Regions from separate parts of the Homo sapiens genome. Here regions 1, 2, 3, 4 and 6 are each linked to region 5. Evidence: promoter capture Hi-C in 16 types of primary human blood cells and fetal thymus (Javierre and others, 2016). All regions are on one chromosome and are shown on one strand. The core of a region is centred on a gene start or on the middle of the fragment in contact, and the rest is flanking DNA. Distances in the headings are between cores, read along the strand shown. Region 1 holds the start of DNMT1 (DNA methyltransferase 1). Region 2 overlaps CDC37 (cell division cycle 37, HSP90 cochaperone). Region 3 holds the start of PDE4A (phosphodiesterase 4A). Region 4 has its middle 4.0 kb from the start of MRPL4. Region 5 holds the start of OLFM2 (olfactomedin 2). Region 6 holds the start of S1PR2 (sphingosine-1-phosphate receptor 2).

The links. Contacts are between HindIII fragments. The CHiCAGO score rates a contact against its expected background, and 5 or more counts as called.
Region 1: a contact is called between the fragment with the promoter of DNMT1 here and the fragment with the promoter of OLFM2 in region 5, in 7 of 17 cell types (total B cells, naive CD8 T cells, total CD8 T cells and 4 more). The highest score is 8.6, in total B cells.
Region 2: a contact is called between a fragment that was not itself captured here and the fragment with the promoter of OLFM2 in region 5, in 7 of 17 cell types (non-activated CD4 T cells, naive CD8 T cells, naive CD4 T cells and 4 more). The highest score is 9.8, in non-activated CD4 T cells.
Region 3: a contact is called between the fragment with the promoter of PDE4A here and the fragment with the promoter of OLFM2 in region 5, in 3 of 17 cell types (naive CD4 T cells, total CD4 T cells and naive CD8 T cells). The highest score is 7.0, in naive CD4 T cells.
Region 4: a contact is called between a fragment that was not itself captured here and the fragment with the promoter of OLFM2 in region 5, in 8 of 17 cell types (total B cells, naive CD8 T cells, naive CD4 T cells and 5 more). The highest score is 9.5, in total B cells.
Region 6: the fragment with the promoter of S1PR2 here is called in contact with the fragment with the promoter of OLFM2 in region 5 in 5 of 17 cell types (naive B cells, naive CD8 T cells, total CD8 T cells and 2 more); the score reaches 8.1 in naive B cells.

The regions. Positions count from the first base shown.
Region 1 is chr19:10,192,267-10,196,242 of GRCh38, forward strand. It overlaps DNMT1 (DNA methyltransferase 1), which reads right to left and starts at 2,687. Exons shown (of 41, transcript NM_001130823.3): 1 at 2,554-2,687. The coding sequence starts at 2,633. RefSeq lists a silencer at 2,391-2,630 and an enhancer at 2,891-3,120. The HindIII fragment of the contact is 2,077 bases long and covers 2,271-3,976 here.
Region 2 is chr19:10,395,490-10,399,458 of GRCh38, forward strand. CDC37 (cell division cycle 37, HSP90 cochaperone) reads right to left here. Exons shown (of 8, transcript NM_007065.4): 2 at 439-714; 3 at 1-54. Among named protein-coding and RNA genes, the nearest start is that of MIR1181, 6.1 kb to the right of the region's middle. The HindIII fragment of the contact is 8,904 bases long and covers 1-3,969 here.
Region 3 is chr19:10,418,462-10,422,235 of GRCh38, forward strand. It overlaps PDE4A (phosphodiesterase 4A), which reads left to right and starts at 2,077. Exons shown (of 15, transcript NM_001111307.2): 1 at 2,077-2,623. The coding sequence starts at 2,304. RefSeq lists enhancers at 870-1,749, 2,930-3,119 and silencers at 1,970-2,439, 2,670-2,719. The HindIII fragment of the contact is 23,098 bases long and covers 1-3,774 here.
Region 4 is chr19:10,246,163-10,250,166 of GRCh38, forward strand. No RefSeq gene overlaps it. Among named protein-coding and RNA genes, the nearest start is that of MRPL4, 4.0 kb to the right of the region's middle. RefSeq lists a silencer at 3,988-4,004. The HindIII fragment of the contact is 5,281 bases long and covers 1-3,957 here.
Region 5 is chr19:9,934,972-9,938,733 of GRCh38, forward strand. OLFM2 (olfactomedin 2) reads right to left here and starts at 1,544. Exons shown (of 6, transcript NM_058164.4): 1 at 1,333-1,544. The coding sequence starts at 1,395. RefSeq lists enhancers at 800-1,394, 2,061-2,563. The HindIII fragment of the contact is 5,720 bases long and covers 1-3,762 here.
Region 6 is chr19:10,228,845-10,232,619 of GRCh38, forward strand. It overlaps S1PR2 (sphingosine-1-phosphate receptor 2), which reads right to left and starts at 2,487. Exons shown (of 2, transcript NM_004230.4): 1 at 2,360-2,487. MIR4322 (microRNA 4322) reads left to right here and starts at 1,569; the gene lies at 1,569-1,641. RefSeq lists enhancers at 982-1,031, 1,112-1,191, 1,131-1,845, 2,992-3,041 and silencers at 1,372-1,421, 2,132-2,791. The HindIII fragment of the contact is 29,719 bases long and covers 1-3,775 here.

The DNA of each region.
Region 1 (3,976 bases), core at 1,437-3,936, 260 kb after region 5:
CACAGTGAGATCCTGTCTCTTAAAAAAAAACTGAAAAAAACAAGCTAAGTTAGCCACTAGCATGTGAACCTTTATGTGCCATGCATATTCTCATTTAACCCAATACCAGCTGAAAACCCATGTCATTATTCCTAGACTATGGATATAGAGGTGGCATACGCTTGTTTAAGGTCATTGAGCCAGTGGAGGTCATGTTTTCAAGAAGGCTGGGCAGGCTGGGCATGGTGGCTCACACCCGTAATCCCAACACTTTGGGAAGCTGAGGCAGGAGGATCGCTTGAGGCCAGGAATCGAAGACCAGCCTGAGCAACATGGCAAGACCCCATCTCTACAAAATAAAAAAAAGGAATAAAAAAGGAAGGCCGGGCCCAAACTTCTCTGAATTGGGTGTAACATCATGAAGCCAGGCACTTTCATAATTTCACTTCCATTCCATTTTAAATCAAGTTTTATTTTGGGAGAATACTGGCACAGATGATTCAAGAAGATATATACCCACTAACTGGTTAAGAAGTGGTTTGACTATAATCCCAGCACTTTGGGAGGCTGAGGCAGGTGGATCACGAGGTCAGGAGTTCGAGACCAGCCTGACCAACATGGAGAAACCCCGACTCCACTGAAAACACAAAAATTAGCCAGGCGTGGTGGTGTGCACCTGTAATCCCAGCTACTTCGGAGGCTGAGGCAGGAGAATCACTTGAACCCTGAAAGTGGAGGTTGCAGTGAGCCGAGATCACGCCACCGCATTCCAGCCTGGGTGAAAGAATGAGACTCCATCTCAAACAAACAAACAAAAAAAAGTAGTAGTTAAGGCATGATGGCTCATACTTGTAATCCTAACCTTTGGGACACAAAGGCAGGAGGACTGCTTGAGGGCAGGGGTTTAAGACCAGCCTGGGCAATATGGTGAAACCTCACGTATACAGAAACAAAAACTAAGAAAGTCATCTGGGCATGGTGGTGGGCGCCTGTGGTCCCAGCTACTCAGGAGGCTGAGGATCCCTTAAGCCCAGGAGTTCAAGGCTACAGTGAGTTATAATTGTGCCAGGGCACTCCAGCCTGGACAACAGAGTGAGACCCATCTCTAAAAATAAAAAGTGTTTCTTTTTTTGAGACAGGGTCTCACTCTGTCACCCAGGCTGGAGTGCAATAGCGCGATCTCAGCTCGCTACACACAGCCTCAACCTCTGGGGCTCAAGTGATACTCCCACCTTAGTCTGTTGAGTAGTTGGGACCACAGGCGCACGGCACTACTCCAGGCTAATTTTTGTATTTTTAGTAGACATGGGGTTTTGCCTTGTTGCCCAGGCTGGTCTCAAACTCCTGGCTCAAGAGATTCGTCCGCCACTGCCTCCCAAATTGCTGGGATTACAGGCATAAGCCACAGCACCCAGCCTTCAAAAAAAAAAAAAAAAAGAAAAGAAAAAAAGCGGGGGTTGAACCAAATATCCATCCCTCCCCAAAGACCCAAATCAGAACCGGACTGGCCCAACCAGGTCAGTTAACAAGCCTAAGGAAATAGAAAAATGGCAAAGAGTGCTTTCACAAATCCAGCTGGAAGTGTCCACGCCTGGTGAGGGTTCCTCTGACTCACGCACACCTCACTTGAACAAGTTTTCAGGAATGAACTGATGGCGTTCATGAACAAGGGGCTGGGACCAGTGCTCCCACTGATCCTTGTGCACGGAAGTTGGACAGAGGCATGAACTGCTAAAGCCAGGGCCTCCAACATTAGACACACACTAAAGAACACACCCATGAACACACACAAACACACACGAAAGTGTAGCCAGTTCTCATTAGCAAGACTTCCCTGATGCCCACGGCTCACAGGCACAGATTTACAGGAAAAGACCAACCATGCAGCCTTCACGCTTCCCGGGCCCTGCGCTGCAATGCACGGTTAAAGTTCCTGCCAAAACATGGACTTTCCCAAGGAGCAAGAACCACACAGTCCCAACTGACAGAATGAGTACCCCACGGAAGGCTGGGCTCTCGAACATGAGCCAGCCCAGCCCAGGCCCCGACGGGTGACATCCGTCTCTGGAGGCCGCCATCGAGATGCACAGCTTTGGGGGAAAGGCACTGAGGGACCCCCCACCACAGAAGCGCCCCCGGGGACCGGGCCGGACACCGGAAGTGGAGGCCGAAGTGCCGGTGCCCGAGGGGTGTCCGTTGGCCGCGGGCTGCCCACTTCCTGTGCGACCAAGCTGGAGTCAAGAGCCCGGCCCACCGCTGCTTGAAGAAGGGGACCCCGGAAACGAACCCAAAGCTTGCTGTATTTGGGGATCAAAAGAGAACCCCCACCCCGCCTAGTTTCTAGCCACCAGGGAGCTACGGGGGAATCCACGGTCCATTTTGGCGCCAAACAGCCCGGGCACGCGCGACCGGAAGTGCCACCCTGCCCGCGCCAACTGCCGCTGCGCGCCGCACCACCCCACGCATGCGCGCCCGTCTGTCAGCAGCGGCCACCGGCCACCCCGAGGGGAAGCGACCCCCCACCCAGCGCCCTGCCTGTCCCCCTGAGTCCGTGTTCCCCCCCATGGTACCTACCGCCTGCGGACATCGTCGGGCAGCGAGATGGCCGGGACGGCCAGTGTGGGCACCCGGGCTGGGGCGGTACGCGCCGGCATCTCGGAGGCTTCAGCAGACGCGGCGGCGGCAGCGCAGGCGCCCCGGCTTTTCGCGCGGAAACCGATGGGGAGGGGCGATGAGCGGAGGCGGCGTCTACCACCCCAGTCCGGGCGTGGGGGAGGAGGGGATGTACCAAACGGAGAGAGGCGATACCCTGTGCAGAAGGATGGAACGGAGCCGGCCATGCCCAGGGAACACGCATGCGCAAGGCGGGCACACACCCCCCCCACGCGGAGCAGTGGGCTCGTCCAAGCTCCACGGTTTGCTGGGAGGTGGGCACGGTGCCCGAGGCATTCATTCATTCATTCTTTCAGGTGTGATGGGGATAAAGCAGCGAGAAGCCCCCAAGGGTTTGTGAGAGCCCTTGAGTAAAGTCCTCAGTTCCAATCCAACCTCCATCTATTTGCTGGCTATACGACCTTAGGTGGGTCACTACGGCTCAGCCTCTGTGTCCTCATCTGTAAAACGGGGTAATTGCACCTACTCTAGAAAATCTTGAGTATACACAGAATTTGTAGCTAGTACCAAGAATCTCACAGTGTATAGAGGCCCATGCCACTTCTATACCCAGTGTGTGGGGGGTTTTTTGTTGCCTTTTTTAAGCACCACGTGGCTCACGCCTGTCATCCCAGCACTTTGGGAGGCCAGGGTGGGAGGATCGCTTGAGCCCAGGAGTTTTAGACCAGCCTAGGTAACATAGAGAAACTGCATCTCAAAAAAAAAAAAAAAGAAAGAAAGAAAGAAAGAAAAAAAGAAAAACAAAAATTAGCTAGTCGTTGTGGCATGTGCCCATAGTCCAAACTACTCCAGAGGTTGAGGCAGGAAGATCACTTGAACCGGAGAGGCAGAGGTTGCAGTGAGCCATGATTGTACCACTACATTCCAGCCTGGGAGACAGAGCAAGACCTTGTCTCAAAAAAATAAAAATAAAAAGTAAGAATAAATTAAGAAGCACCATGTCAGGCGCAGTGGCTCACGCCTGTAATCCCAGTGCTTTGAGAGGCCCAGGTGGGAGGATCGCTTGAGGTTAGGAGTTCAAGACCAGCCTGAGCAACATAGGGATACCCCATCTCTACAAAAAATACAAAGATTTGCTGGGCATGGTGACACACACCTGTAATCCTAGCTACTTGGGAGGCTGAGGTGGGAGGATGGCTTGAACCCTGGCAGTGTAGGCTGCAATGAGCCATGATTGGGCCACTGGACTCCTGCCTGGGCGACAGGGTAAGACCCTGCCTCACTCTGTCACCCCGGCTGGCGTGCAGTGGTGAGATCTTGGCTCACTGCAACCTCTGCCTCCCAGGTTCAAGCGATTCTCATGCCTCAGCCTCCCTAGTAGGCT
Region 2 (3,969 bases), core at 104-2,603, 460 kb after region 5:
CCTCACCTCCTCTGAGTCCTCCTCCGTCTTCTCGGGCTTGGTATTTACCATGCTCTGTGGTAGGGTGAGAGGGGGAGTGGGCTGGGGCAAGGCTGCGGAGCGCCTCGAGCGCGGCCGGGCGGGCCGTGGTCGCAGCGCCCATCCCATCCACGGCGGAGGTGGTGACGAAGCCATGAGCATCAAGGTGGCGGGAGCGTGGGCATGGGCCTTGGGGCAGATCAGAGGAGGGGACCGGTGGGGTGTTTCATCCGCCCGGCCCCCCAAGCCTGTCCCCCCTCCCACGTGGCCCCCGTCCATCCCTCAGCTCCCCGCCCCCCACCACACTCTTCAACTACACCACCGGGGTCCTCCCCTGACCAGGCATTGGGTGCGCATGCGTCCTGGTTGCAGGCTCTCTGGCTGCGCATGCGCACTGCCCGCCCCGCCCGCCCCGCACACCTTGCTGAAGCCGTCTTTGCTGAGCGTGTCCACGTTCCAGGGCATGCTCTTCTCCTTCTTGCGCATCTCCTCCAGCTTCTGCTCCCAGCTCCGCTCCTCCTTGCGCAGCTGCTGTGCCTCGGCCTGCAGGCGCTCCAGCTCTGCCTTGCCGCCCTCGGCCACCTCCAGCTCCTTCAGTTTCCTCTGGCACTCGGCCACCTTGCGCTTGCACTCGCGGCAGCCCCTGTCCAGTTCCTCCTTCTCCTTCTGGAACTGCTCCATGCGTTCCACCCGGGCCTGCGGGCAGGGACGGCCTATCAACTCTGGGGAGTCGTCTGTCCCTTACCCCCGCCCCATACCCAATCCCTGCACCGGAGATGGCCCCAGGAAAAAGTACGCGTCCACCTCCCGTGCCCTGGTCTCCCAGCTTCCGCCCCTGCGCCCACAGGTGCCAGCGCACACCCAAGTGGGGTCAGGTCCCTCCGTCCTCTGCTCAGAACCCTGGCGGCTCCCATCTCACAGCAGAACCCAAGTTGTCACCACAGCCTACATGGGCCCTACACAATCTGCCTCGGCACCTCCCCTGGTAACTCTTCCTTCCAGCTACACCAGCCCCTCACTTTTCTCACCTTTTCTTGAGGCCATTTTTTTTGTTTAAGAAAACAAAACAAAACAAAACAAAAAACAGGGTCTCACTCTGTCGTCCAGGTCAGAGTGCAGTGGCCCAATGATGACATACTGCAGCCTCGACCTCCCTGGGCTCAGGCGATCCTCCCACCTCAGTCTCCCAAGTAGCTGGGACTACAGGTGTGCACCAGCACGCCCAGCTAATTTTTGTATTTTCAGTAAAGATGGGGTTTGCCATGTTGCCCAGGCTGGTCTTGAAGTCCTGGGTTCAAGCGATCCTTCCCTCTCGGCCTCCCAAAGTGCTGGGACTACAGGCGGGAGCTACTGCACTCTGCGGAGCCCACTTTTTTCTTGAACCTCAAGGCCTTCGCACTGGCTGTTCCAACTACTTGGAATGCTTTTCCTTCAGAGCCCCCCACAGCTGACTCCATGGCACCCGTGCCATCTGGGCTCCATGTTGCCTTAGCGAGGACCCCTTCCCCAACCACCTTCCTGATGATGGCAACTTCCCGCTGCCCCTGTCTGGAATTCCCTGCCTCCTCAACATCAGCAACCACTAACATCATATGACAATTATTTATCACGTTTTGGGTACTGCCCCCCTCCAATGAATGAAGCCCTGCTCTCTAAATATGGGAACGTGTTCGCCATTTTGTTCCCAGAACCAGGAACGTGGCCTGGTGCAAAGCACGGGCTCAGCAAATGCTTGTTTTTTTTTTTGTTTTTATTTTGTTCAGTTTTGTTTGAACAAGGTCTTGTTGTCATGCAGACTAGAGTGCAGTGGTGTGATAATGGCTCACTGCAGCCTTGATCTCCCAGGCTCAACCTGCCTCAACCCCAAGTAGCTGGGACTACAGGTGCACACAAACCACCAAGCCTGGCTTTTTTTTTTTTTTTTTTTTTTTGAGACGGAGTCGCCCAGGCTGGAGTGCAGTGGCGTGATCTTGGCTCACTGCAACCTCTGCCTCCCGTGTTCAAGCAATTTTCCTGCCTCAGCCTCCTTAGTAGCTGGGATTACAGGCACGCGCCACCACGCCTGGGTAATTTTGTATTTTTAATAGAGACGGGGTTTCTCCATGTTGGCTGGTCTTGAACTCCTGACCTCAAGTGATCCACCCACCTTGGCCTCCCAAAGTGCTGGGATTACAGGCATGAGCCACTGCACCAGGGCCCCTTCTAGATGTTTCTTTGTTCCACCCATAACCTTGCCCCAGGATCACTGCCAAGGCCCTCTTAGCTCTGTCTCCAGCCCAGCATGCCCTCCTGAGCCCCAGCTTGGTGTCTACCTGCTTCCCGCTCACCCCAGCCCCAGATGTCACTCCCCAGGCACTCCTCTTTCTCCTTATAACAGTGCCTCATCTCCTCAGGCTCCTGGTCCCCGCCTCACTCCCTGTCTCCCTCAGACCTCCATCTGGGCCCCATCGGATTGTACAGGCCTCTCCTGAGACCCCTGCGTGGCTCCACCATCACCTCTCCTGAACCTCAGTGGAGGCTGCTCTATCCAGAGCCACTAATCAAACCCTGAAACCCTGAAACGTGCCACCACCTTCAATTGCTGACCCTCTCCAATCCAGGCACAGCTGCCACCAGGGAGGCCTGTGAAGCCCATGCATTTGACCACGTGACCAGAGTCCTCCCCACTACATCTTGGGGGGTCTGAATTCAGATGGGACTTCTGATCCTGGCATCCTGGTCCTGGGTCCCAGGCAGATACTGGCCCTCATCGTTCCCCGAAAGTACGGGCTCTGTCTTGCCTCTTGGCCTCTGCATGTGCGGTTCCCTTACCTGCTTTTGCACCCAAAACTCAGCTTCAACAGAGCCTTCCCCAAATGCTCCCTGCCTGAGGCACCACTGATCCCTAAAGGACCTCCTGTGACCATCTGACGATGTGGTGAGGGTGCTGGAGGACAGCCTTGGGGCAACGGCCCCTGGGTCCTAGCCCACAGCCACCATGTACCGGCTGGGTATCCCGGGCCATCCCCTAACCTCCTGTAACCTCAGTTTCCTCATCTGTCAAACAGTCAACAATGCTGACTGCACAAGCTCATATTGGAAGAAACTAAGGAGATGATTAGAGTAAAATGTCCCGAGCCATGTGGGCCCTCAGCACGCACCCTTCCTGTACTGGCCAGGGTCATTACCATCTGTGCAAGAGAACAATCTCTCTCTCTCTCTGGGGACCACTCTGGGGCCTCAAAAAGGAAATGTCCTTCAAATGCTTAGTTTAATTTCTGGCCCAGAGTACACGCTCAATAACTGGGAGTGGTTGTTACTACATGGTCACAGCACCCGGCTGTGCCACTGACGGGAGATGGAACTTTGGCCATGTCACTGAAACCTTTCCCAGCCTTGGTCTTCCCCTCTGTGAAATGGAGTCTCACAGGATCGCCGTGAGAACTGAATGACTAACTCTATGGAAAATGCTTCCAAAACAGCCCTCAGTAGGTGTGTCCCACTGTTACCATCTCCGTCCTTGTCACTGCCACCTGAATGGTCTGCTGACTCATTCCTGTGCCTTATCTGAGGCTGTGTCCCCAGGTTCTAAGGCAGGGCCAGGCAGAGCTGGCCCCTACTCTAATACCCCAGGGGACTGACACAGCCAGCCTGAGCCTCGGATTCCCCTATATGTATAAGGGGTCAAGAAGGCCTACGTGGTCGAGCGTGGTGGCTCACTCCTGTAATCCCAACACTTTGGGAGGCCGAAGCGGGTGGATCACCTGAGGTCAGGAGTTTGAAACCAGCCTGGCCAACATGGTGAAACCCCGTCTCTCCTAAGAACACAAAAATTAGCCAGGCGTGGTGGCAGGCGCCTGCAATCCCAGCTACTCCAGAGGCTGAGGCAGAATCGCTTGAACCCGAGGCAGAAGTTGTAGTGAGCTGAGATCGCCCCACTGCACTCCAGCCTGGGCGACAGAGCATGACCCT
Region 3 (3,774 bases), core at 827-3,326, 480 kb after region 5:
ATGCCCTCCTCTGGTCACCGCTTTCGGCAGTTCCAATCCACCCCCACCCCCATCTACTCAATTGGAGGGTTCCAGGGTCTCTGTTTCCGTCATGGTCCAATGGTTCATTTCCAGATAGGGAGAGCAAGTGACTGTCTCTCGCCCCTGGAGCTGCTTAATTATACCTCTCCACGCCCATCCCACTAGCCTCAGGTCCAGATCAGTTTATCCCCCAGCTCAGGCCACCGCTCCTCGTTTCCTCCTTCTTCTGCAACCCCAGCTGTGTCCTGACACCCCCACCCACCTCACATTACGCACTCCCACCCGCTTCCAGATCTCTAACCAACGTTACAGCATACCCCGCCAAGAATTTGGCCCAGCCCAGGACTCTCAAATATGATCTGGGGAGAACTCACAGCCCCTGCAAATTCCCTAGAAGCCGTTTTGAGTGTGTAATGGGGGGGGTGTTCCTGAGAGAAGTGGGGAACACAGTTTTGGCCCTTGGAATACCCGGCGGCTGCTGATGGGGGGGCCGGTTTTTGCTCGGCGTTCGCCCACGCCGGGAGCCCCCTCTGGCGGGGAGAAAAGTGGCTGTGGGGGTTGAAGACCGGCAGTCTTTTTTTTTTTTTTTTTTTTTTTTCAAATAAGGAGAAGGGCGCGGGGGGAGGGCGGTGGCAAACGGCATCGCGTGCCCTGGGGAGCCCGTGACAGGGGGCGCACGGGGGCAGGGGTCTGGTCCCCGGGTCCCGCAGCAGAGCAGTTTCGCGTTCGAGCTCTTATCGGCGTGGGGGGGGGGGGCGGTGGGACACGCGGGCGCGTGCACTCCCCCCGCCCAGCAGCCATCCTTGGGGGGGTTGAGGGGGATGGGGGCGCACTCGGATCCCGCTCGCTCTCTGCTTGCTCGCTCGGCGCGGCGCTGGGGGAGGCGGGAGCGTGAGTCACGGCGACTCCCGATTTAGGTGCCGGAAGGGGGGCTCTGCTGGCGGGGGCCGCAGGGAGGAGGCTCGCCTGTTTACTCGCCTGAAAAGGGCACGGGGGTGCGCTCCGCGGCTACCTGGGACCTTCCTCAGTTTACCTCTGGCAGAAGCGCTTTAGAAGAGGCAGCGATGTATAGAGCGGTGGGCCGGCAGCTGCGGTATCCGCCACAGGGTGTCTTCCTGGAGCCACAAGGGAACCAATGGGACACACCCCAGAAACACCCCAGAGGCCCCAGGCCGACCACACACATACACTCACGCACACGCACACACTAACATACATAGACGTCCTCCGACACTACAGTCAGACGACAGAGGCCGAATCGCGTGCACAACTCCGCAAGCACACACCGACCACAAACGCATCCAAGCGCTTGAGAACACATTCACAGTCCCCAGGCCACCTGAAAAAAGACCACGTAGGGATGCACATCCTCCAAATAGGTAGCACATGTGCGCACACATCCTTCACCCACAGACACACACAGTTATACACACAGCCAAATCCAGAGAAACGGGCAGACAACAGCAGCCAACCACGTGCGCACACACACTTCCAGCCGACACTGAAAACACAGACAACCCTCGGAAGAGGCCACGTGCGCGCACATCCCGCCCCGGGCCCGCACCATCACTATCCTCCGACGCACAGACAGGAGATCCCACACACTCTGCCGCCGCCCGCTGCAGGTACCGCGCCGGTGGCACTAGGACCACTCCTCAAAAACTGCCCCCCGCCAGGGGTAGCGGCGAGGACACGCCAACACCGGACTCCGCCCTCGCCATGATGGACCGACTGACTGACACTCTGGCAACCAGTCCGGTGTCTGCTTCCAGATCGGATTAACCGTTTAACTCCTTCGTGCCTGTGCGCGCCGCGGCCAAGCAGGGTGCTTTGAAGACAGACGAGTTCCAGCGCCCCCTCCCAGCCCGGAGCGGGGATCTGCGTGGGCGGGAAGGGCCCCCCTCCTTAGGTAGCTGCCCCCCGCTGGCCCGGACGGAGGAGGAGGGGGGCGGCGCTGACAGCCGCGGCGGGCGGGGGGCGGGGAGGGGCGGGACGGGGCGGAGGAGCCGGGGCTGGCGCCGAGCGGGCCGCGGAACGCGGAGCGCGGAGCGCGGAGAGCGCCGCCGGGCACTGAGCAGAGCTCCAGGCGCCGAAAGGAAGCTGCAGAGCCCGGCCCGGGGGCGATTGGCCCGCAGCGCCCCCGGGTCTGTCCCCGGGGCGCCATGGCCCTACCGCGGCCGGGCGCACCCGCGGGGCCCTGGGCTCGCTGGCTTGCGCGCAGCTGAGCGGGGTGTAGGTTGGAAGGGCCAGGGCCCCCTGGGGCGCAAGTGGGGGCCGGCGCCATGGAACCCCCGACCGTCCCCTCGGAAAGGAGCCTGTCTCTGTCACTGCCCGGGCCCCGGGAGGGCCAGGCCACCCTGAAGCCTCCCCCGCAGCACCTGTGGCGGCAGCCTCGGACCCCCATCCGTATCCAGCAGCGCGGCTACTCCGACAGCGCGGAGCGCGCCGAGCGGGAGCGGCAGCCGCACCGGCCCATAGAGCGCGCCGATGCCATGGACACCAGCGACCGGCCCGGCCTGCGCACGACCCGCATGTCCTGGCCCTCGTCCTTCCATGGCACTGGCACCGGCAGCGGCGGCGCGGGCGGAGGCAGCAGCAGGCGGTAAGACTCCCCGCGGCGGATGCGCGCGGAACGGATGGGCGCGCAGGGAGGAGGCAACTCGAGCTGCCGGCCGCAGGGGGCGCTAGGATGCGGGTGGGGTCGGTTTGGCTGGCGGGGGCGGAGGGAATTCGGCTGCGGGGGCGTCTGGGACCTGGCCCCTGGTTGTGCGCTCTACGGGAGGCTTCCTGCTGAAGCCCATCCTGGGGTCCATTTAGGGGGCGCCACGCTGCGCGTGGTGTTAACGAGGTCTGGGTTGGGGAAGGGGGCTGCACACTTAGGGGTCTGTATTCTTGGTGACAGTGCAGAACAGCTGCTAAGCTGGGAACCACTTGGAGGGACCTTCCTGGGGGCACTATACTGAGGGCTAGATTCGCAGTGTTTGGGGTACTCTTGGAGCACTCCATAAGGGGGTGCCTGCTAGGACCAGGATCTTTACTTCAGGGTGGGGTGCTCTCAGGGTCCTTCTAGGGGATGGAGGACTCTATTGCGGGGATGTTAGTGGACTCCTCCTGCAGCAGCTGGGGTCAGAAATCCAGAGGGTGCCTCTTGGGGGAGCACTGTTTTGGGAGCCTTGCGTTAGATTGGAGTTCCCCTCTCAGGGCAAGAGTGTTAGCGTTAAGTAGCTGTTCAGAGGCAGGAAACAGTGGAGGGGGGGCGCAGTCCCAGCACAGAGGGAAGGAGTCCCTGACTGCAGAGGTGACAGCATAGTGAGGGTGCATGTGTGTTGAGCTTGGTCTCCTCTGAGGGTATTCTCCGATTGACCTCCGTTTGCTCCAGCTGTCCGGGTATGACCAGCTGTGGCTACCTCAGTTGTGTGCTCTGTGTGAGCTTCTGGGGTCTTGTGATGGTGACACGATGACTCTGTGTCCTCCAGGGACAGTGTAATTGTGACAGTGTGACTGTGTATTTCCAGGGTAGTGTGACTGTGTGTTTCTGGGACAGGGTTTGCGACAGTGACTGTGTGTGCTCCAAGAATGCTGTGACTGTCACAGGGTGACTGTGGCCTCATGGGATGCAGTGATTGGGATAGAGTGACTGTTTCTGCTCCTAGGACAGTGATTGTGCAATGGTGTTGGTGGTCTAGGGACAATGTGATTGTGACAGTGTCATTTCTGGCATGCAGTGATTGTGGCACTGGGGTGTTTACACTT
Region 4 (4,004 bases), core at 67-2,566, 310 kb after region 5:
CATTTTTAGCCAGGTGCAGTGGCTCACGCCTGTAATCCCAGCACTTTGGGAGGCCGAGGTGGGCAGATCACAAGGTCAGGAGTTTGAGACCAGCCTGGCCAACATGGTGAAACCCCATCTCTATTCAAAATACAAAAAAATTAGCCGAGTGTGGTGGCAGGCGCCTGTAATCCCAGCTACTTGGGAGGCTAAGGCAGGAGAATCGCTTGAACCTGGGAGATGGAGGTTGCAGTAAGCTGAGACTGTGCCATTGCACTCTAGCCTGGGCAACAAGAGCAAAACTCTGTCTCAAAAAAAAAAAAAAAAGAAGAAGAAGAAGATAACCATTAGGCCAGATGTGGTGGCTAACATCTGTAATCCCAGCACTTTGGGAGGCTAAGGCAGGAGAACTGCTGGAGCCGAGGAGTCTAAGACTAGCCTGGGCAATGTGGTGAGACCTCGTGTCTACAAATATATATATATTTTTAAATAGCCAGGTGTGGTAGCACACACGTGTAGTCCCAGCTACTCAAAAGACCAAGGTGGGAGGATCACTTGAGCCCCAGAGACAGAGGTTGCAGTGAACCAAGATCTCGACATTGCACTCCAGCCTGGGTGGCAGAGTGGAACACTGTCTCAAAAAAAAGAAGATAAATATTAATATAGGGCAAGAGAAGAGGGTCAGAAAGGTCAGAGGTGAAGATTTGCTTTTTTATTTTTTTGAGACAAAGTCTCGATCTGTCACCTGGGCTGGAGTGCAGTGGCGCAATCTCAGCTCACTGCAACCTCCGCCTCCCGGGTTCAAGTGATCCTCCCATCTTAGCCTCCTGAGAAGCTGGGACTACAGTCGCACACCAGCACAGAGGTTTCAGTGAGCTGAAATCACACCACTGCACTCCAGCCTGGGTGACAGAGTGAGACCCTGTCTCAAACAACAACAACAAAAACAAAGGAAGCATGCAGTGGGTAGTCCGAAAGGTTCAGCCACCTCTGCCCCCTGTCAGTCTTTCCTCACTCCTGGCCTCTGCGACTGCTGTTCTCTCAACCTGAAACAGACTTTCTCCTCTGGACAAAGTCCTCAAGCCTTAGCTCTCAGGCTACAGCTTCATAAGACCACCCCAAGACCCTGCCCCCGTGGTTGGGAATTCCTCCTGTGGACGCCCACAGACCCTGTAGACTCCCCTCCTGAACTCTGATCCTTCAGGCCTCTGCATTGGACTGTGAATATTTCAAAAGTGTTTGCTGGATTTACTGGTGTACCAGTGGTGCACAGTAGGTGCCTAATAAATCACTAAGAAACTAAGCCAGGCGGCCTAGTGTGGTGGCTCACGCCTGTAATCCCAGCACTTTGGGAGGCTGAGGCAGGCGGATCATTTGAGGTCAGGAGTTCGAGACCAGCCTGGCCAATATGGCAAAACCCCATCTCTACTAAAAATACAAAAATTAGCTGGGCGTGGTGGTGTCTGCCTGTAATCCCAGCTACTCAGGAGGTTGAGGCAGGAGAATTACTTGAACCCAGGAGGTGGAGGAGGTTACAGTGAGCCGGGATCGCACCACTGCATTCTAGCCTGGGTGACAGAATGAGACTGTGTCTCAAAAAAAAAAAAAAAAAACAAAAGGCACAGGGCATGGATGGATGATACAGATCTGTTGTGGGGGATGAGGGGTGGAATCACAAGGTCAGGAGTTTGAGACCATCCTGGCTAACATGGTGAAACCGTCTCTACTAAAAATACAAAAATTAGCCAGGCGTGGTGGCGGGCACCTGTAGTCCCAGCTACTCAGGAGGCTGAGGTGGGAGAATGGCGTGAACCTGGGAGGCGGAGCTTGCAGTGAGCCAAGATCACGCCACTGCACTCCAGCCTGGGCGACAGAGCGAGACTCCGTCTCAAAAAAAAAAAAAAAAAAAAAAAAGCCAGGCGAGGTGACTCACACCCATAATCGCAGCACTTTGGGAGGCCAAGGCGGGCAGATCGCTTGAGCCCAGAAGTTTGAGATCTGCCTGGGCAACACGGCGAGACCCTGTCTCTATGAAACAAGAAAAAAGAAAGAAACGAAATACTGTTCCATCATTTGCCACATAAAATCTAAACTCTCTGGTGCAGAACAGACTTGCAAATCTGCCTGTAAAATCATACACCGGATTTTGGAGTAGACACACAGGAGGCTGATTGTAGTGGTGGCTTCTGGGAGAAGAACTGGGGGGTAGGGGGCACAGATAAGAGTAGACAGAATTTTCACTCTAGTAATCTTTGTAATTTTTGAAATTCTCTCTACCAGGTGTATGAATGACCAATGAAAATATACAATAGGCCAGGCGCAGTGGCTCACGCCTATAATCCCAGCACTTTGGGAGGCTGAGGCGGGTGGATCACATGAGGTCAGGAGTCCGAGGCCAGCCTGACCAACATGGTGAAACCTTGTCTCTACGAAAAATACAAACATTAGTCAGGTAGGGAGCATCACTTGAGAACAGGAGTTCAAGACCAGCCTGGACAACAAAGCAAGACCTCTGCCTCTACAAAAAAAAAAAAAAAAAAAAAAAATTGCTGGGCATGGTGGAACATGCCTGTGGCCTCAGCTACTTAGGTGGCTGCAGCAGAGGATCATCTGAGGCCAGGAATTCAAGACTACAGTGAACTATAATCGTTACACTGCACTACAGACTGGTAACAGGGTGAGATCCTGTCTCAAAAACAACAGCAACAAAATAAACGATTAAAAGACCTTTTAAAGTTGCAAAATACATAGAGTCTTAAACATGCATCCACAGTTATTTATTTATTTATTTAGAAACGGAGTTTCACTCTTGTTGCCCAGGCTGGAGTGCAATGGTGCGGTATCAGCTCACTGCAACCTCCGCCTCCCAAGTTAAAGGAATTCTGCCTCAGCCTTCCAAGTAGCTGGAATTACAGGCATGCGCCACCATGCTCGGCTAATTTTGTATTTTTAGTAAAGATGGGGTTTTGGCATATTGGCCAGGATGGTTTCGAACCCCTGACCTCAGGTGATCCACCCGCCTCGGACTCCCAAAGTGCTAGGATTATAGGCATGAGCCACCACGCCCGGCCGCATTCAGTTATTCTTGCAGGGATAAAATACACAATGAAATACACTATACTTTTTGTTTTCTTTCTTTCTTTTTTTTTTTTTTTTTTGAGACAGAGTCTCACTCGTCGCATGGGCTGGAGTGCGGTGCGGGATCTCGGCTCACTGCAACCTCTGCCTCCTGGGTTGAAGCGATTCTCCTGCGTCAGCCTCCCGAGTAGCTGGGATTACAGGTGCCCGCCACTACGCCCAGCTAATTTTTTTGTATTTTTAGTAGAGATAAGGTTTCACCATGTTGGCCAGGCTGGTCTCGAACTCCTGACTCGTGATTCGCCCACCTTGGCCTCCCAAAGTGCTGGGATTACAGGCGTGAGCCACCGCACCCGGCCACATTTTTTTTTTTTTTTTTTTGAGACAGGATCTTAGTCTGTCACCCAGGCTGGAGTACAGTGGCATGAACATGGCTCACTGCAGCCTCAATCTCTTGGGTTCAGGTGATCCTTCTGCCTTAGCCTCCCCATTAGCTGGGACCACAGGCATATACCATCACACCTAGCTAATTTTTAAATTTTTGGTAGAGGCCAGGCGCGGTGGCTCACGCCTGTAATCCCAGCACTTTGGGAGGCCGAGTCGGGTGGATCACCTGAGGTCGGGAGTTCGAGACCAGCCTGGCCAAAATGGTGAAACCCTGTCTCTACTAAAAATAAAAAATAAAAATAAAAATTAGCTGGGCGTAGTGGCGGGCGCCTGTAATCCCAGCTACTCGGGAGGCTGAGGCAGGAGAATCGCTTGAACCCAGGAGGCAGAGGTTGCAGTGAGCCAAGATCGCGCTACTGCACTCCAGCCTGGGCAACAGAGTGAGATTCTGTCTCAAAAAAAAAATAATAATAATGCTATTTATTGACTTTACACCTTGTACCAGGCATGGGAAGCTTTGCCTCCATTACGTCACTGAATCTCATAACCTCCTTTTCCAG
Region 5 (3,762 bases), core at 294-2,793:
CGGACGCTGTCCACACCCATGGAGCGGATTATTTAACAAGAGGGTAATCGTGTGGGCTCAGGAGCCGGACTGCCTCGGTTCAGTCCCACCTCTGTCACTCTCGAGCTTGAGCAAGTGATTTAACTTTTCTGCGCCTCAGTTTCCCCATCCATAAAATGAGGTAACAATACCATGCTCTAGTAGGGAGGAGGCAGAGGGGGTTAAATGCCTTAGTCTGTGCTGTGTGATTGAAACAGCACCTCTCAAATTAGCACGTAATGAATGATCACTGTTATCATAATGACTATTTTATTATTTTTGATCCCAGCTTCCCTGTGAACTCCTACAGATCTGAGAACTTGGGGGTGCTCTCACTCCCAAGATGGAGGAGGAGAGGGGCTTTCCAATAGCAAAAGAGAGCGTGGACGCCCCACATTTTGCAAGCCTCCCTGAGCCTGCCCAAGAGAAAGGTGCCATGGGGAGGGAGACCCGCTTCTGTAAGGGTATGAATGGCGTGTGCGGTTGTGAGCAAGGCACCAAGATACACACACACACGTGCATGGATGGACACGTTTGCACACACAGCGCTTGCACACACACACACCCTTTTAGAGTGATTTACCCAAAGGTACAGAATAGCACACGCTCACTCCAAGGCTCTCACACGGCCACACACCTGGCCACACACGTATTGTACAACACCCAGTCATCTGGAGCCAGTAATGAGGACACGGTCACACACAGACTCTGTCTCACGTACTGATCACACCCCAACTCGGGCACTAGTTGGACAAGCCCCCCAACCGCCACACACACAAACTCCCCCCGGTCACACCCAACCACGACACAAAGACACACACGTTTACCCTGCACCCCCACAGCATTTCACACGCGTCCCCGTCAGTCACTCTCACGTGAGTCCCGTCCCCTGCCCCACACTGGGGGCTGCAGGCGAGGAGTGGAGGGCTTCAGAAACTGGGCATCTCGGCCCCGAAGAGGAAGTCAAGGGTAAGCAACCGCCCCCCTCCAATGCCCCCTGAAGTTTCCCTCCCAACCCCATTCAGCTCCAGCGAGATGGCGGGGTGGGGGCTCGGGGCCATGGAGGGGTTGAGAACCCCAAAGACGCCACCCCCCAAACCAGCCCAGCTTGAGGCTGGATTTGAAGCCCCCCTCGTCCTCTCCCAAGCCAGAGAGTGCACGTCCCGGCCCCTCCCCCGCTGCGACCCCCGCCCCTCGCCGCCCTGCAGCTGGGGGGGCTTGTGGAGCCTCCCAACCCCGTTTCTCCGGGAACCCTCCGCGCCCCCCTCCTCTCCCGGAGCCACCCGCGCCCGCACCTGCCCGCCGGGCCCCTACCTGTCCGGCCAGGCCTGAGCACAGCAGCAGCAGCAGCGGCGGCGGGACCGTGAGCGGCCACATGACGCGCCCCTAGCCCGGCGTCCCGACCCCCGCCCGCCCTAGCGGCGCCTCGGCGCGGGGACCGCCACCAGGCGCGACCCCGCCCGCCCGGCCGGGGCGACCCTGCGCCGCCGCCTCCCCCGCCTCGCCGGCGGCCGGGATTCCGCCCCACCCCCGCCCCCTCGCTCGCTCCGAGTCTTTGTTGCGGGCTCCGCCCCCCGCCCCGCCCCCAGCTCCTCTTCGGGAGCAGCTCGAGCAGGGTCGGGTGGGGGGGTGGGGGCGGGGAAGTGGGGGAGCCAGCGCCGGCGAGGGGACCTGAGGACAGGACTTGGCAGCGCCCCCCAACCCCCAGGCCATTCCGGGAGCGGGTCGCGGAGGTGGGGGAGGGGTGCCCGTCACGTGTTTGTAAATTTCACCCTCCGGGGGCATTTCCCACGTTGCAGGTGGGACGGGGACGAATGGTTGGGGGAGAGGAATAGGAGGAAGGCCTGGTAGCAGAGAGGGGAAATGATGAACGCCCCCTCCCTAAAAACTCAAGAGTCAACAGGGAAACTGAGGCAGAATCTGAAATTGGAAGTTGGAGGAGGGGTCAATGCCAGGACAAGAGGGGTGAGGCATAGATGGAGACGGGGAATAAGAGGAAAAAATTGAGGTTGGGGGGACAGGAGACCGAGAATCAGGCAAGAGGCCAATGGAAATGGCCACGTGGGTGGGCTTGGCCTCAAAAAGGGGCGTCTCGTTTTCACTCTCCCCGGGCGCCCCATTTCCCCACCAGTCCTCCCGCTGGAAGCCTCCCCGCCTCCGCCACACCTGGAAGAGTTTCTCTTCGCTCCCTGTTTCAATAGCCCAAGATGAAAGACCACATCCCCCGAGAGAATCAAAATATTAACACCGCCTCCACGCGAAGCCATTTGCATATGAAGGGCGTCCTTGTCTAGCCTCACTTTCGGGAGGCTTTCCAGCCTTTCTCTGCCTCTCACTCCTCCAAAAGTCTCCCTAGGCCGGGCGCGGTGGCTCACGCCTGTAATTCCAGCAATTTGGGAGGCTGAGGAGGGTGGATCATCTGAGGTCAGGAGTTCAAGACCAGCCTGGCCAACATGGCAAAACCCCACCTCTACTAAAACATACAAAAATTAGCCGGGCGTGGTGGTGCATGCCTGGAATCCCAGCTACTCGGGAGGCTGAGACAGGAGAATCGCTTGAACCCGGGAGGCAGAGGTTGCAGTGAGCAGAGATCGTGCCATTGCACTCCAGCCTGGGCAACAGGAGCAAACCTTGTCTCAAAAAAAAAAAAAAAAAAAAAGTGTCCCTAGTCGTCTTTCCTCCCCACAGCCCCTCTAGGGATTCGGATATATGTAGGCAGAGGTGGAGGAGGGGGGCGGGCAAATAAGTCAGATTGGAAAGAAATCGGGCATAAAATATGCGAGGCCAGGAAGCCTGGCATTTTTGTGACCCTGATACTGTTGGGCTAGGAGGGGTCTCCCCAGACGCTGGTGGGGCCTCGACCCCAGCTGGTGTCCAGGCTCTTAACACCATCGCAAGAATGAATTCAAGGAGGAATCAGAAAATCATGAAAAGTTCGGAGATTTTTTTGTTAAGGGAAAAGTCCACACTTGAGAAAAGGGAGTGGGCGTACTTAAGAGAGAGAGATGGGCAAGGTGGTTTGGGACTGCTACCTTTATGTGTCTCTTTTTTTTTTTTTTTTTTTTTTTTTTTGAGACAAAGTCTCGCTCTGTCACCCAGGCTGGAGTGCAGTGGTGTGATCTCGGCTCACTGCAACCTCTGCCTCCCAGGTTCAAGCAATTCTCCTGCCTCAGCCTCCTGAGTAGCTGGGATTACAGGTGTGCGCCATCACAGCCGGCTAATTTTTTGTGTTTTTAGTAGAGACAGGGTTTCACCATATTGGCCAGCCTGGTCTCAAACTCCTGACCTCGTGATCCACCCGCCTTGGCCTCCCAAAGTGCTGAGATTACAGGCGTGAGCCACCACAACAGGCCACTGTGTATCTCTTTAACCAAGGGATGGAATATTCATGAAAACTGGAAAAAGGTGGACTGTGGTGCCACCCACTTTTACACCAAATTTGGGTGTCCCTGGAATTGTCAAGGGCGCTGGTGGGTGGGTAATTTTAGTATTTTAATGAGTACATAATGAGATCCTAGGTGAAACCTAGGTAGAATGTAACGCCATGTTGGGTCCAGTAGGTCTTAGCCAGCTTGGTCCACACCCTGGTTTTCAGGATCTTATCAGCCCATAGCCTCTAGTCATGTGAAACGGCTGCCTGTGACCACCCTGGATCATTCCTGTCTCAACCCTACTGGGGATAAAACATGTCGATGATGGTTTTGTCAGGTCAATGAGAAAGAGCTTGGTGACCCACAGATCTGG
Region 6 (3,775 bases), core at 1,237-3,736, 290 kb after region 5:
GACTCAGACGACTGTTTGTCTGGAGATTAGGAGAGGGGAAGGATGGAGGAAGCCTCAGTGGCTTCCAAGGTCCTCTCCACCCACTCCCAGTTCCAGAAAGGCAGGCCCTGTGGTTACAGTTCCCCCTGGTCACCCATGGAGCCCGTGGTAGCCACCCTACCTTTTGGTTTCTCTGTGGTTGTCAGGACCCCCTACCCTGCCATTCTCTACCAAGCAGCCAGGGGGAGCTTTTAAACTTGTAACTCCATGTCACTCCCCAACTCCAAATTCTTCCATGGCTCCCTATAGCCCAAGTAGGATGGCCCCTGCCGATGAAGCCTCCTCCCACTCTTCCCCCAGGGCCATTCCACTCCAACCACACTAAACCTCCTCCATGCTACCCCTACCCCTACCTCCAAGCCTTTACCCCTGCTGTTCTTCTTGGGGCACACTCTTTTTCTCAAAAAAAAAATTTTTTTTTTTTGAGACAGAGTCTCACTCTGTTGCCCAGGCTAGAGTGCAGTGGTGTGATCTCGGCTCACCACAACCTCTGCCTCCTGAGTTCAAGCGATTCTCCTGCCTCAGCCTCCTGAGTAGCTGGGATTATAGGTGCCTACCACCACACCTGGCTAATTTTTGTATTTTTAGTAGAGATGGGGTTTCACCATGTTGGCCAGGCTGGTCTGGAACTCCTGACTTCAGGTGATTCACCTGCCTAAGCCTAGGAAAGTGCTGGGATTACAGGCGTGAGCCACCACGCCTGGCCTTTCCTCAAATCTTTGAATGACTGTCTCCCCATCTTTCAGAAAGGCAGGCCCTGTGGTTACAGTTCCCCCTGGTCACCCATGGAGCCCGTGGTAGCCACCCTACCTTATAGAAAGTGACCTTTCTATTTAAAGGTCACTTCCTCAGAGGGGACTCCCCTGACCCCCAGTCTACAATAGCAGCCATCTCCAAGCCTTTTCTAATCACAGAATCTCGTTTTATTATCTGCACAGCGCTTGCCACTATGGGAAACTATCATGATATCTTTCCTTTTCTGTCTGGCTTCCACCTAGACAGTCAATGCCTAAGGCCAGGGAGCAAGTCAGTTATCAGCCCCTACAGGGATGCCTGGCACAAATAAAACACTCAGAAAACGTGTGGAATGGGCAAATGAATGAATGAATGAATGAACCAATGAACAAAGGAGACCCTAGTGGGTTCCCAAGGGTGGAAACTCCTAAGCTCAGCCCAGACCCAAACAGCAACAAAGGAGCCTGGAGACACCTCTGGTCCGCGGGCAGCGCCCCCATCGCCCACCATCAACCAGGCAAAGCCCAGCGTGTCTCCATGGAGATGGCAGCAGGACCCGACCCCGTGCTGGCCCGCACTCTCGGCCTCCTTATCTGGTTTAGGAATGCGCGGTATCCACGCTCGCTCGCGCGGGAGCCACGCCTCCTCTCCCCCCCGCCCCCGAGACCGCCACACGCGCGGGGCCCCCACGTCTCCAAGCGGCACTGGAAGGATTCCTCTCCGTCCCGCCAGGGGTCCCGCCTCGAGATTCTGGGAAGACTGGGGGTGGGGGACCAGATCGCAGCAGCAGCTGCACCGCGAGTTCCGCGCCTGGCCGTGTCGCCCCACGAGGGGGACTGTGGGCTCAGCGCGTGGGGCCCGGAGCATCTGACAAGGACAGAGACAGAGGAGGGGGTGGAAATCCCCGGGTGAGTCAACCCGTGCCTGAGAAGGGGGCGAGTTCCGACGCTCCGCCCGGCTCGGGGCCACGCGAGGTCCGCGCCACGCGCGCCTTCACCCACGACCCATCCCTGAGCCGGAGTTGAAAGAGGAGGCGTCTGAGCCACGCAGTCACTTTCTCTTTCCTTACAAAACAAAGCCACGCCCCCCGCCGGGGGACCGGAGGAGGCAAACAACTTGGGGAAACCGAGGCAGAAAGCCCGACGTCCGACCGCCCTCCCCGTGGGTGCCGCCCCTTGGCTTGGAGGCTCCACGGCGCGCACATCCTTTTGCCCTCGCTCAGCCGGAGTCAGCCAGGAGGGGTGTTGCCCCCCCCCAAACACACTCCCCAAGACCCCGGTCCCCGAGCACGGCGTCCTGCCTCCCAAAGACTCCAGTCGAAAGCGCTCGGATTCAGCCTTCTCCCCGGCGCCAACTTCCTGCCGCTGAGAAAGGCGGGGAGCACAGTCTGCGGGTTCGCGGCCGAGGCAGTGGGGGCCGCCCGGATTCTTGGAGAGGGCGCACTGTGACCACCCGCTCCGTGCAGCAGGAACCCAGGCGGCGCGTGCGCGCCCCAGCCCCCCGATTGGGGCCCCTCAGCTCGGATCCCGAGACCTCAGGGGACCAGGCCCGCCTTTTCTGCCTCCTTGTCGCCACGCGCGCTCACCTGGCTAGGCCGGCCCGGCTCCCGGCCCTGGCCGGAGGGGCCTTGGCGTCTGCGTCCCCAGGGCGGCCGCGGCTGGGGCTGGGGTTGCCAGCCGGGCTCGGCTAAGTCCCGGGGCTGGGACGAGGGACAGAGGGGGGGGCGGAGAGCCGCCGCCTCTGCCCCCCGCTCGCCCCGCCCTCCTCTCCTCCCCTTTCCGGCGGCGGCTGCAATGAATTCCAGATGTGACCGGCCGGCTGGCCGGGGCGCACGCGGGGGCCGACAGGAGCTGCACGGAGGGCCCTTTGTCCGCCCCCCCCACCCGATCTCTCACTCTGCCCCTCCCAGCCCCCACCCGTGAGAACCGGCCGGCGCGAAACGTCACGCAGCCTGGTGACGTCACAGTACTCCTGGCCAGGTGGCCTCAACCTGAAACAACTGTCTTCAACCCCAGGTTACCTCTGGGCTTACCCCTGGGACCCTGGACTTGGAAGAAAACACGAGGTCACATTTATTGACTCAACAAAGAGCCTTGGAAGTACCTACTAGGTGTCAACGCAGCAAATAGGCATTAAGTGCCTACTGTGTGTCCACCCAACAAATAAATTCCTACTAAGTGCGATGTCCTGTCCCAAAGACAAAATTGATCTCTTTTTTTTTTTCTTTTTTTGAGACATGGTCTTGCTCTGTCATCCAGGCCAGAGTGTGGTGGCTCAATCATAGCTCACGGGAGCCTCAGCCTCCTGCCTCAGCCTCCAGAGTAGCTGGGACTACAGGTGCGCCATCATGCCTGGCTAATTTTTTGCAGTTTTTTGTAGAGATGGGGTCTCGCTGTGTTGCCCAGGCTGGTCTTGAACTGCTGCATTCAAGCAATCCTACTGCCTCAGCCTCCCAAAGTGCTGGAATGACAGGCGTGAGCCACTGTGCCTGACCAGTCTCTCCCTTGATAGGACCTCCAGAATTCAGGTGCTGCCCTGTTTCCCTTGGGGGACTGGGGACACTCCACACTCTTTCCTGCCTCTGTAGATCACTGTCCCCTCTGGCGGGGCCCAGTTTGTGCCTGCCTTCCAGCGTCGGGCCCAGTCTTCTATCCAGATTTCCAATTTTCACTAATTCCTGGGCATTTCTGTGTGCCTGCCTGCGGAAATGATGGACACTACACCTTCATCGAATGATGTGTGTGTGTGTGTGTGTGTGTGTGTGTGTGTGTGTGTGTGTAACCAGCAGTTCGACAACAGGATAGGAAAGCCCCTCATTCCAGCAACAAAATTTTTTTGTTTGAGACAGAGTCTTCCTTTATCTCCCAGGCTGGGGTGCAGTGGTGCCATCTCAGCTCACTGCAACCTCTGCCTCCCAGGTTCAAGCTATTCCTGTGCCTCAGCTTCACAAGTAGCTGGAAATACAGGCGCGTGCCACCACGCCTGGCTGATTTTTTTGTAT